Linked DNA regions of Homo sapiens: region 1 is linked to region 2. The links are contacts of gene promoters, found by promoter capture Hi-C in human tissues and cell types (Jung and others, 2019). All regions are on one chromosome and are shown on one strand. Each heading gives the region's core, a stretch centred on a gene start or on the middle of the fragment in contact. The rest is flanking DNA. Distances are from core to core; before and after follow the strand shown. Region 1 holds the start of LINC02198 (long intergenic non-protein coding RNA 2198). Region 2 holds the start of CCDC125 (coiled-coil domain containing 125).

The links. Contacts are between HindIII fragments. The study calls those that stand out against the background at their distance.
Region 1: a contact is called between a fragment that was not itself captured here and the fragment with the promoter of CCDC125 in region 2, in 1 of the 25 tissues and cell types used here (dorsolateral prefrontal cortex).

What each region holds. Positions count from the first base shown.
Region 1 is chr5:69,025,944-69,032,183 of GRCh38, forward strand. LINC02198 (long intergenic non-protein coding RNA 2198) reads right to left here and starts at 3,984. Exons shown (of 4, transcript NR_130778.1): 1 at 3,845-3,984. The HindIII fragment of the contact is 3,211 bases long and covers 2,143-5,353 here.
Region 2 is chr5:69,331,518-69,337,266 of GRCh38, forward strand. It overlaps CCDC125 (coiled-coil domain containing 125), which reads right to left and starts at 1,284. Exons shown (of 12, transcript NM_176816.5): 1 at 1,132-1,284. It also overlaps the pseudogene CHCHD2P2. RefSeq lists a silencer at 4,525-4,819. The HindIII fragment of the contact is 34,363 bases long and covers 1-5,749 here.

The DNA of each region.
Region 1 (6,240 bases), core at 2,498-4,997, 300 kb before region 2:
AGGAGTGGGTGGGAGAAGGTGGGCCCTGTGCAATTTGGATACTTCACAAATGTGAAATATTTATTTGTAATTTATTTATTATTTGTCCCAGACAAATGTGGCCAGGCCTAAGGTATTACAAATAAATATTCTAGAGAAAGTTGTTGTGTTAGGCACAGAGGTTGTGACCAGGACACCCACTGGAAGAAATGAAATGGGAAGAGAGAACCAAGCATGTATGGCTGAGCCCCTTCTGGGGACGGCATCTTTCTTTCACAGTGGCCCCTTCTTGGGAAGTAGGCATTGTCTTCCACACACAGTAAGCTGCCACCTTGCTGTGCTGGCCCAGATCTGCCCACGACTCTTTCAGTAAGTGTAAGTTTCATTCCCCAGTTACCTCTATTAGGAACAAAGCTGTTCTTCATCAATTTATTCCATGTTTCATTACCCAGGAAAGAGGGGTGTTGTATATGCTCCTTCCAAAGCCCCTAGAGTGACCTTCTGGCCCTCCCATGCCTTCTGAGGAAGAATCAGAGAAAAGACTTTGCTCTGTCTAACTTCTGGAAACTGTTGCAATGATCTCAGTGTTGGGTAAAATGAAAAGCTGGAAGAGCCCAAGAAAGGTCAAATTAATTTACTCATGAGAAAGAGTATGGAGCTCATCTGGAAAGAATATAATAGACCTCGGAGGTGAGAGGAAAAATCAAAGGGCTAGAGTTTACAGAAAAGAGGCTGCAGAGAGACATTGAGAAGCAGCTAGGGTGCTGAGGTGGCCTTCAGGAAGAGAGATCTATAAAGATGATCCCGGGTGGTGCAGTTATCCTTTGGCTCCCTCTCCAAGAGGCATCTGTCTTGATCAACATACGTTGTTTTTCAAGGTGGGTGATTTTTTCAGCCAGACTTGGATTTCCTTTGGATGTCTCAGTATGCTGAGAGTGGCGTATAGGACAGCTCTGTTTCACTCAAGTTATAATACATTGGGACTGGCTAAAAAAGATAAAGGAAAGGGAAACATTTCCCAGAGTGCTTTGCAGAACACTGGTACCCACTTAGAGATTTACAATGGATATTAACATTCCAGTCAAGGTTCTGGAAAAATGGTCAGCAAAAGAGCTTATATGTCTTTAATCAGCAGCTCCCAAATGTAATGTGCCACAGAGCTTTTTTCATGTAAGACATCTTGAGAACCCTGGCACAAAGGACAAAACAATAAGATTCAAAATTACTGCTTGGTGATATGAGGAGAGAGCACATTAGATATTATCAAAAGAAAATTATAGCATTCATATGTCTGCCTATGAAGAAACTGTTTTAACTTCAGCTTCAGTTAAAAGTTAACTGTTGGCCAGGCATGATGGTTCACGCCTATAATCCCAGCACTTTGGGAGGCCGAGGCGGGCGGATCACCTGAGGTCAGGAGTTCGAGACCAGCCTGACCAACATGGAGAAACCCTGTCTCTACTTAAAATACAAAATTAGCCAGGCATGGTGGCACATGCCTGTAATCCCAGCTACTTGGGAGGCTGAGGCAGGAGATTCACTTGAATCCGGGAGGCAGAGGTTGCAGTGAGCCGAGATCACACCATTGCACTCCAGCCTGGGCAACAAGAGTCAAACTCCATCTCAAAAAAAAAACAAAGTTAACTGTTTTAATGTTAACTTCAACCAAGAGGAACTCCTGTCATAAAAGAAATTGGATGGAGGAAAGGAAGTTGGCGGAGAGGGAGGAGGTGACGAGAAATCATCTGCCATGGCCACAAGAGAACGGGAGAGTGCAGCTCTTGCAGAAAAAGAGCTAAAGACACAAGTCTCCTGCTTGTTGGAGAGAAAAGAAGCTTTGCACAGGCAGGGCCAATGTATGCTACATTAGAGGGAAGCCTTCCATGAAATCAATAGAGGAAAACACAATACTTAAAGACTGCATAAGCAAAGATTAGAATTTATGAGTAAGGCCTTGGAAGCAAGAAAAGGCTGAGACAAGAACAAGACAATACCTACAGAAGGAAATCCAGACCAGGCCATAACTAGTCACACAAGTTAAATGCTCGTGTTCAGTTCCTCAGTGAAGTGATCCTGGAAAATAATATGAATAGCAAGGCTGACCTTAGAACTACTGTGTATCATTATAGTTTATTGTATATTGACTGCTGCAGGTGACTCTGTTAAATAACCTACATATTCTTCTCATAATAAAGTGCTTTTCTCAACCCCATAAAGTCCTGAGTTAAATAAACCTATTAGGTGAAAATGTGAATAGATCAAGCACTGTAAAAAAAAAAAAAAAAAAAAAAGTTGAAAATGTAATCAATGACATAATTTCTAAAGTGGCATCTGGCCTAAGAGAGTTGTATTCAATGAGTTCCACCAAACTTCAAGAAACAGGTGATGTTTGGGTGTTTTTCTATTTCCACAAGGCATCAAAAAAAATGCAGGTAATCTGAGGACCACCATTGGAGAACCACTGTCTTTGTAGAATGCCGCCTTAATGAAGCTTATTTTGATCTGGGTGTGTTTCAGCTATTAGAAAAGGAGGATTCGAACTCTAAACATGGAAGACAGGGCAGCAACACAGAAAGGAATTATATGAAGATCTCCTTATCAAAGCGGCCTGGCAAATAGGGCACAATGAGATGCAACAAAATTAGGCAGACCAGTCTTCCTAAAGATCCAGCTAAAACCAAAGAAGATAATTTGGAGTTGGGCCAGGGTAAGATCCAGAAACTAAGATTTCTCGGTTATTTATAGAGCAGTCATCATATTTGTAAGATGCCTATGAGATACATATATATGACAAAGGAAGGAGGTGGCTCAGGTCTGTCTATTAGGGATTCCTTCAGCAAAGTCTCAACTGGGATCAAGTCTTGTTCAAAGTAAAGCCTTCTTTCTAAATCCACCTACCTCTGTTAACTATTGTTTTCTTCTGTCTCTTCTCAACTATGCTCTTACTGAAACATCAGCTCCTGGGACATCCCTTGTCTTGTTTCCCAGTTTTGTTCCTACCTATGTTTTGCCAGGATTCAGAGGAGCTGGGTTCTAGGCTTGATTAAAATCTTTCTAATCGTGTCATCTTGTTAACATCTTGTTGGTCATCTGTTTACACCTCTTGAATATCAGATCTAGCCCAGATCTGATCCTTTCCCCCATACTCATATTAAAATGCACCCCCACCTTCGCCTGTAGAGGGCCATCCTTGCCCCACTCCACATATTTAGCTCAGGAGTTATTGTCTCCATCCTGGCTAATCAGAGTTAACCACATACTAGGAAAACAGAACTAAGAGATGTCAAGGGAATCTGGGCCCTGATGGTATCAATCGAACATCTCTTTCAAGGCACATTGAAAGCTCACTCTAGTCCTGAACTTTTCAATTCTGTGAGCCAAAACACAGAGACAGAGACAGACAGAGAGACAGATACCTTTTACTGTGTAATCCACTTTGAGTTTTCTGTCGCTTGTAATGCATCTTTCTTGGAAGCATGTTTTTCATCAATAAAACAAGGATAATACTTGCTACCAAGCTTCAGTAGGATGTAAGTATTTTGGAAAGTCTAAAGCCTATTCAAACATAAAGTATTATTCCTACTTCCTCTTTTATGCTCTTGCCTGAGTTCCTTGCATACTAATACTTTCAAAGCATAAAACATAATACTATACCAAAAGAACATTTTCATTACCTGATATTCCTGTTCTGTGTTCAGGGACTTTTGATCCCATCTGTTCTACAGAATCTTTTATATAATAGAATTCTTTGAAACCAGACCAGCAAAGTTCTGTTTCAATGAACCATTTGTTCCCTAAGCCACAAAAATAGCTCCTGCAAATAAACCCTATGTTTAAAATGGTGTTTGTGAAAACCTCATTTTACCTGTGATATATATGAATGTACTTTGGAAATAAATTTGCCTTGTAAATTTGTCATTGATGTCTAGTAAATTTTCATTACTACTAATTAGTTAAAGTATTAGTTCCTTCTGATTTCTTGATCTTGGGACTTGCTGCTCAAAAAAGGCACTGGCTTTGGGGATCCAACAATGAAAGATCTTGGGTCTTTATTCAAACAGCAGATGATTTTCTTTTCAATGCTGCTGATTTTACTTCTGTGGTTCTTTTTTCTTCATTTCTGCTTCTCCCTCCTTTTCACGACTAATTTGGCTTTGAAATTTGATTCTTTGATTTAATCCATCTGCAATATTTATTCCTCATAGCTATTATCAGTGCCTTTGCAGAAAGTCATCTGTTGCCTGAGGAATTAGAAGACAAGGAGATATTAGGGGTTTGAGTTGCACTCTAAAAAATTAGAGAACAGAAGCAATATATTGGGATGTTAATCCAATCTCAATAAAGCTGTTACTTAAAGAGAAAAAAAGCAATGAGTTAATACTGGCCGACCCCTCAAGAACCCATGCAGAATCACAAACTGATCCTCCCCTGGGTTCATCAGCATGAAGGATGATGGCATTCTTTTCTCGATCCAAATAAAACCCAGCAAACCCTTCTTCAAGTGTTACCAATGAGGCATGTAGAATCACAGTAAGGAGATTTAACTGATAAAGGCATTTTATTTTCCAGCATTTAAGTGTACACTTTAAAGACTAAAATCAATTCCAACGTCCCTATTTATACTCTGGTGGTACACATGTGTATATATAGCAAACCAGCCATTAGGAAAGAAGCTTTGCATCTTTCCACATAATCCAAAATAATGGCAAATTATGATGTGGTGATTAAATCAAGACCTTCCATATCAAAAAATATATTGCGGACTGGATCTATTCAAAGCTACCTTCTTTTTCAATTTTTTATATTTTATTCCACCTTGCCAATGTACTTTCCTTATAATTCATTCTCTAGCTCAGCTGGACTTATTGCTACTTAGAATGGCACATACAACAGTGAAAAGATGATGTCACCCTTTAGCCAAATTGCACTATTATTCCAGAACTGCATGTACTCTCATTCATTTATCTCTGCTGACATCGCTCCACAGGAAGGTTTTCCAGGGCAGATGCGTGCTCCCTTGGCAATAAAAGTGGTGGAGATTGCACATCCATTTTAAAATCCTGAAAGGTAGATTTTAGTAAATCTCAACTTTTTAAAAATGTATTGTGATTAAAGGAGGCATCAGTTGTTGTCCCCAAACCTGTTCTGGTTAAAAACCTCAAAGAATCTTGAATGTGAAACAACCTTCAAAATTTATTCTCATTATACAAATATTTTCTTCATTTAAAGGCATGTTTTAAAAGCTGAATTTAAGAAGAATTGTGCAGATTATAGTGGTCTATTTTGCAAGTATGTGCATATATGCTAAGAAATAACTATACACTTTAGTGAACATTTGATAAGGAGTCGGGGGAAAAATTAGTGAAAGATTATTATGCAGGATTCTATTCAAGTGTGCCAGAACAGCTTTAAAATCAAATGCAAGCATTAGAGATAGGAAGAGACTTTAGGAAGAGGAAGACAAGCAATTGCAGAAATTGTATAAAACAGAAAAGGCAACGTAGGAAGTAAGAGTGAAGAGAAAATCCAGGAAAAATAGGGTTGGGTACAGTGGCTCATAGTTGTAATCCCAACATTTTAGGAAACTGAGGCAAGACAATCGCTTAAGGCCAGGAGTTCAAGACCAGCCTGGACAACATAGTGAAACCCCATCTCTACAAAAAATTTAAAAATTAGCCAGATGTGGTGGCACACACCTGTGGTCCCAGCTACTCAGGAGGCTGAGGCAGGAGGATGGCTTGAGCCCAGGAGTTCAAGGCTGCAGTGAGCCACGATCACACCACTGCACTCCAGCCTGGGTGACAGAGCAAGATTCTGTCTCTTTAAAAAAAAAAATGTGGGGAGGTAGTTTTTAAAAATACATTTTCTTATGTTTTAATCTTTTTAGAATGTAATCCATGCACACAGCAAAAATCCCAATAGCACAAAAGGATATACAAAGAATAGGAATCTCTTTCCCACTCCTGACTCCAGACCCCTAGAATTCATCCCCCACCCAAGGCAAACACTGTTACCACTTTCTTGTTCTCTTCATTTTTGTGTGTGTACCACAGACCACTTCAGTATCTGATAAAGCTTATGGATCCCCCTCTCAGAACAATGTTTGAAAATATGTAAGCTAAAGTGCAGAGGATTACAAAAGAAACCAATTTGCCTGTAATACTGTTCTATCTGTGAATCCCTTAGGGATCCATGGACTCCAGGATAAGAGCATCTACTCTTAGATTCCCATGCATGTACAAGCATATATAGTACAGTATC
Region 2 (5,749 bases), core at 34-2,533:
CTGCGCCCAGCCGAAACTCCGTTTCAAAAAAATAAAAATAAAAATAATGTATCCAACTGAAGTGTCACCCTGTTTTCTACAACAAAGCTACAGTTTTCACCTCCAGTTTCATCTGGCAGTACTCCCTGGATGTACTCTGCGCTTCCACGTAAGAGGAACTGCACTTGCTCCCAGGGCTCCTCCCTCAGCTCAGCTTGGTCACCTGCAAGCCTCTATTGGTGCCATTCTTCACCCCAGGAATGCTGTTTCTTCTCAGAGCCCCCTCAGTTCAGGACAGCACTCCCTCCAGTAGCCTTCCTGACTCCCTTGGACCAGATGTGATTTCTTCCACATCTGAGTCTTCCCAGTTCTGGGAGGTTTTACTGAATCTTTTTAATAGTGCTTACTTCCTACCTGACCTAGACTGACTGTATATTCCCTTATGCAGAGACTTTGTGTGTCTCGTTTGCTTATGCACAACATGTGTTCCAAAGATATTTGACAGAATCGAAAGAGAAAACCGATTCCTGCCCGGAAACCTTTGGACAGAAGAATCTACATTCAGTAGCCTGACAACTCTGCCTTAGCAAACAAGTTGGTCAAACATGCCTAACTCCATGACAAAGAGGAACTAACTTGAGCCCTCCCTGGTGAACAATGGCCTGCTGCACTTTGCTTTAGGATTTTGTTTCTTAACTTTTCATTTTAGAATAATTTTAGATGTACAGTAAATTGCAAAGATAGTACTAAGAATTCCTGTGTACCTTTTACCCAAATTCCTCTAATGTCAACATTTGTGTACAATTTGTCGAAATTAAGAAATTAACATGGGTACGTGCTATTAACTAAACCACAGCCTTTATTATTTTTTCCACTAATGTCTTTTTCTGTTTCAGGATCCAAACCAGGATACTGGCGCTATAGTTTTATAAGGCTCAAAATTAACAGAAGAGAAAAAAAGTAAAGCAGGTGGAGAGGCAGAGAGAGAAATAGGGTCTCTGAAATCTATTTCTTATTTTTTTCTTATCAGACGAGGCCATTAAACTGGCATTCAGGGAAAAGGATTTGGGCAGTTTGTCCACAACCTGCAGAGTTTCCACGAATCTGCGCATCCCGCCCCTGCCCTGGGTCCTCCCCACTCCCGGTTCCCACCTGCCAGGTCTGACCCCGGGTACCCTCTCAAGGTCCGTGGCGGGGACCGGAGCCCGGACTCCAGCTCAGCGAACAGCACCCTCCTACCGCCCCGGCGCCCCACTCAGCTCGCTCACCTGGCAAGTAGCCTCCTCTCCGTGCGCGTGCGCCGCTGCCGCCGCGCGTCCTCCGGGCCACCACGTGACCGCGTGGGCGCAGTCCCAGACAGGAAACGCCGGTGAGGTCGCCCTGGGCCATGGAGGCAGCTCGCGCTACTTTTTCGCGACCTCACTGTGTTCCTGTGTGCAACCTGATGTTAGCTCTGTCCACCTTCAGCTCCAAAGCCAACCACGGGTAACCAATATGCAAACAATGACATGAGATTTAGAAAAACAACAAGACGGGGCCTGTGTCAATACAGGTAAAATTTGGTGGTTCAAACATTGAGGTTCAGACCGGCGCGGGGTTTCACACCTGTAATCCCAGCTTTTGGGAGGCCAAGGCGGGAGGATCGCTTGAGGCCAGGAATTCGAGACCAGCATGGCCAACATAGTGAGACCCCGCTCTACAAAAAATTTAAAAAGTAGGGCTGGGCGCGGTGGCTCACGCCTGTAATCCCAGCACTTTAGGTGGCCGAGGCGGGTGGATCACGAGGTCAGGAGATTGAGACCATCCTGGCTAACACAGTGAAAACCCTTCTCTACTAAAAATACAAGAAATTAGCCGGGCGTGGTGGCGGGTGCCTGTAGTCCCAGCTGCGCAGGAGGCTGAGGCAGAATGGCGTGAACCCGGGAGGCGGAGCTTGCAGTGAGCCAAGATCGTGCCACTGCACTCCAGCCTGGGCAACAGAACGAGTCTCCGTCTCAAAAAAAAAAAATAATTAAAAAGTAGCGGGTGTGGTGGTGCGTACCTGTAGTCCCAGCTACTCAGGAGGCCGGGAGGCCGTCAGGTGGGAGGATCCCGTGAGCCTGGGAGATCCAGGCTACAGTGACCACTGCACTCCAGCCTGGGCGACGGAGTGGAGACCCTGTCTCAAAAAAGAAACAAACCAAAACCAAAATATTAAGTCTCTAGGAATCCTGTAAGAGAAGGGTAGATCGGGCCAGGTGCGGTGGCTCACGCCTGTTAACCCAGCACTTTGGGAGGCCAAGGTGGGTGGATCACCTGAGGTCAGAAGTTTGAGACCAGCCTGGCCAACATGGTGAAACCCCATCTCCACTAAAATACAAAATTTAGCCGGTCGTCACACGTCCGGAGGCCGAGCCGTCGCGTACCTAGGATGCCGCGTGGAAGCCGAAGCCGCACCTCCCGCATGGCCCCTCCGGCCAGCCAGGCCCCCTCAGATGAGAGCTGCACCCAGGCCAGTACCAGTCGTTCAGCCACCAGCAGCGGCACCCCCATCTGTAGTTGGCTCTTCTGCTGCTGCGCCCCGGCAGCCAGGTCTGATGGCCCAGATGGCAACCACTGCAGCTGGCGTGGCTGTGGGCTCTGCTGTGGGTCACGCCATTACTGGGGCTTTCAGGGGAGGAAGTAATGCTGAGCCTGCGAGGCCTGACATCACTTACCAGGAGCCTCAGGGAACCCAGCCGGCACAGCAGCAGCAGCCTTGCTTCTATGAGATCAGTTTCTGGAGTGTGCCCAGAACCAGGGTGACATCAAGCTCTGTGAGGGTTTCAATGAGGTGCTGAAACAGTGCCGACTTGCAAACGGATTGGCCTAATCAAGAAGTTCAACCTGGAGAGATGGAAAATCAGCTCTCATAACTAAGTTAATTTAGTATAAAAATAGAATTGATAGTGAGGGTATAAAGTGTAACCATGAGTTAAACCTCTCCTGTCATTCCTAGCTTCCTTGCTTCAGAATTGAAATGGAAGGGGGGTGTTCCTACTCTGTAGAATCTGTGACAGGGCAAATGTTTGTGTGGCCTCCTTAAACTAGCTGTTATGATTTTATTCTTTGTGAGTTAATTAGAATAAAGTCATTTTCTTCCAAAAAAAAAATTAGCCGGTCGTGGTGGCAGGTGCCTGTATTCCCAGCTGCTTGGCTGAGGCAGGAGAATCTCTTGAACCCGGCAAGCGGAGTTTGCCGTGAGCCGAGATCGCGCCACTGCACTCCAGCCTGGGTGACAGAGCAAGACTTTGTCTTAAAAAGAGGAGGTGGGGGTGGGAGAGAGAGAGAGAGAGAGAGAGAGAGGGAGAGGGAGGGAGAGAGAGAGAGAGAGAAATCTAAGCTGAGGTTCAGAGGTAGAGGCAGTCATTGAAAAACAGGCTTTTGCGGGCGGGCGGCGTCCACTGCAAGGATGCACTGTCTGGCTCCCTCTGGAGGCGGGAGCACGAAGGAGCGACCACGGAGCCCTTGAGCCTGTGGATGGTGGCCTCGGCGGCCGGCAGGCCATGCTGGAGTATCTGCCAACCTGATGAAGACGAGGACGTCCCACAAGTTCCGGACAGACGTGGCCGCCAAATTAATGAGGAAAGAAAAGGAGTCTTTTTTTTTTTTTTTAAAGACAGAGTTTTTCTCTTGTTGCCAGGCTGCAGTGCAGTGGCGAGATCTCAGCTCACTGCAACCTCTGCCTCCCGGGTTCAAGTGATTCTCCTGCCTTAGCCTCTGGAGTAGCTGAGATTACAGGTCTGCACCACCACGCTCAGCTAATTTTGTATTTTTAGTAGACAGGGGGTTTCTCCATGTTGGTCAGGCTGGTCTCGAACTCCTGACCTCAGGTGATTCGCCCGCCTTGGCCTCCCAAAGTGCCGGGATTACAGGCGTGAGCCACCGTGGCTGACCAAAGGTGTCTTAAGCTTAGAAAAATGATAAAAGATATAAAAGCTGCCTAGGAATGAAACTACTGGGTCATATGAGGCTCCTTCAGGGTGCGCAAAGTCCTGGAAACCAGCATGCAGATAAGGAAAGAAAGAGACCATCAGTCCATGCAGTTGTCAGCTGGCTGGGAGCTGAGGAGAGTCACTTGTGGAGGCACCTGATCTTTGTCCCCCACGTCCCAGACAAGCCCATATCTCACTTTCAGAACTAAGATGCTTGGGAAACCAAGACAAGGAACTGTGTATTGCAAACAGCATTACCCTAGAGAAGAAGTGGCAGGAGATGACCTACAAAAAAATGGAGCAATAGCCTAGAGCAAGAAACAGAACAAAAGAGAACTGAGTCACCTCCTGGAAGGTCACACAAGACAAGCACATATTCAGGGGCCTCCTAACAGACTAGACTTCCAGCATCCTCAGTTGGGGCTAGACACTTTTTACATAGACATTCAATACTAGAGAACTCAGGGACATCTGATTTATACCATGAAATACATACACAGCAGATGTGTGCCTGTGGAGCAGAATTCTGGAAAAGCTCACAGCCCAGAACATAATGCAGACTCCCCCAGCCACAGCACCTTCCAATCCTGAGAAGAGTGCTGATTCTCCATCTGAGCACCCATTCTCCTGCAACATCAGGGGAGAGGAGTTCACCTAAGGATCAGACCAGTATCTCCAAACCCAGCTCCCCACCTCTGCCTGTTGGTGGCACTTGTGGGTGAAGGGGAGATGGTATGAAAAGACTCACAACAGGAGTCACCTGAACAAGGTGGGGCTTGGTGGAAACTGACATTTGTTCCTGTTGGAGGCAAATGTGGAATTTGGCATCTTGCCTTAGCAACAGACACATGAAATTCTCCAGTGCCCAGGACTTTTGACAGTGACTTCAAAGCACAGCTGGGAGACCCATGTGGCCCAGGCTCTACCCAGGCAGGAGCTCAGCTTCACTCACAGCAGGATTCCTAGTGCCAAGAACACCATGGGTGCATAGCAGGTGATCAAAATAATTGTATGTGGCTGAATCAGTGAGAGGTAAGAGAGAGGACTTGAGGCCGGGCACGGTGGCTCATGACTGTAATCCCAGCACTTTGGGAGGCTGAGGTGGGTGAATCACAAGGTCATGAGATCAAGACCATCCTGGCTAACACAGTGAAACCCCATCTCTACTAAAAACACAAAACATTAGTCGGGCGTGGTGGCACGCACCTGTAATCCCAGCTACTCGGGAGGCTGAGGCAAGAGAATCGCTGGAAGTCGGGAGACGGCGGTTGCATTGAGCTGAGACTGCACCACTGCACTCCAGCCTGGGCCACAGTGCGAGACTCCGTCTCAAAAAAAAAAAAAGAGAGAGGACTTGATCCTAGCGGCAAACTAAGAGACCTCATTAAAACCTAACATGTGAGGCCCAGCATGGTGACTCATACCTGTAATCCCAGCACTTTGGGAGGCTGAGGCTGGAAGATTGCTTGAGCCCAGGAGTTCAAGACCAGCCTGGGCAACATAGTAAGACCCTGTCTCTTAAAAAAAATTGGATGAGCATAGTTATAGTCCTAGCTGCTTGGGAGGCTAAGGCAGGAGGACTGCTGGAGCCCAGGAGTTTGAGGTTAGAGTGAGCTATGATTGCACCACTGCAATCCAGCCTGGGCAATGCAGTGAGCCCTGTCTCTCTCTACAAAAATCATATATATATATATAATATATACATAATATATATAATATATACATTATATATATAATATATATTTAGTGTGTGTATGTGTGTGTGATATCAGAAAAAAAAACTATTCATCGTGAAGTAAAAAAGAGCCTGACTTTGG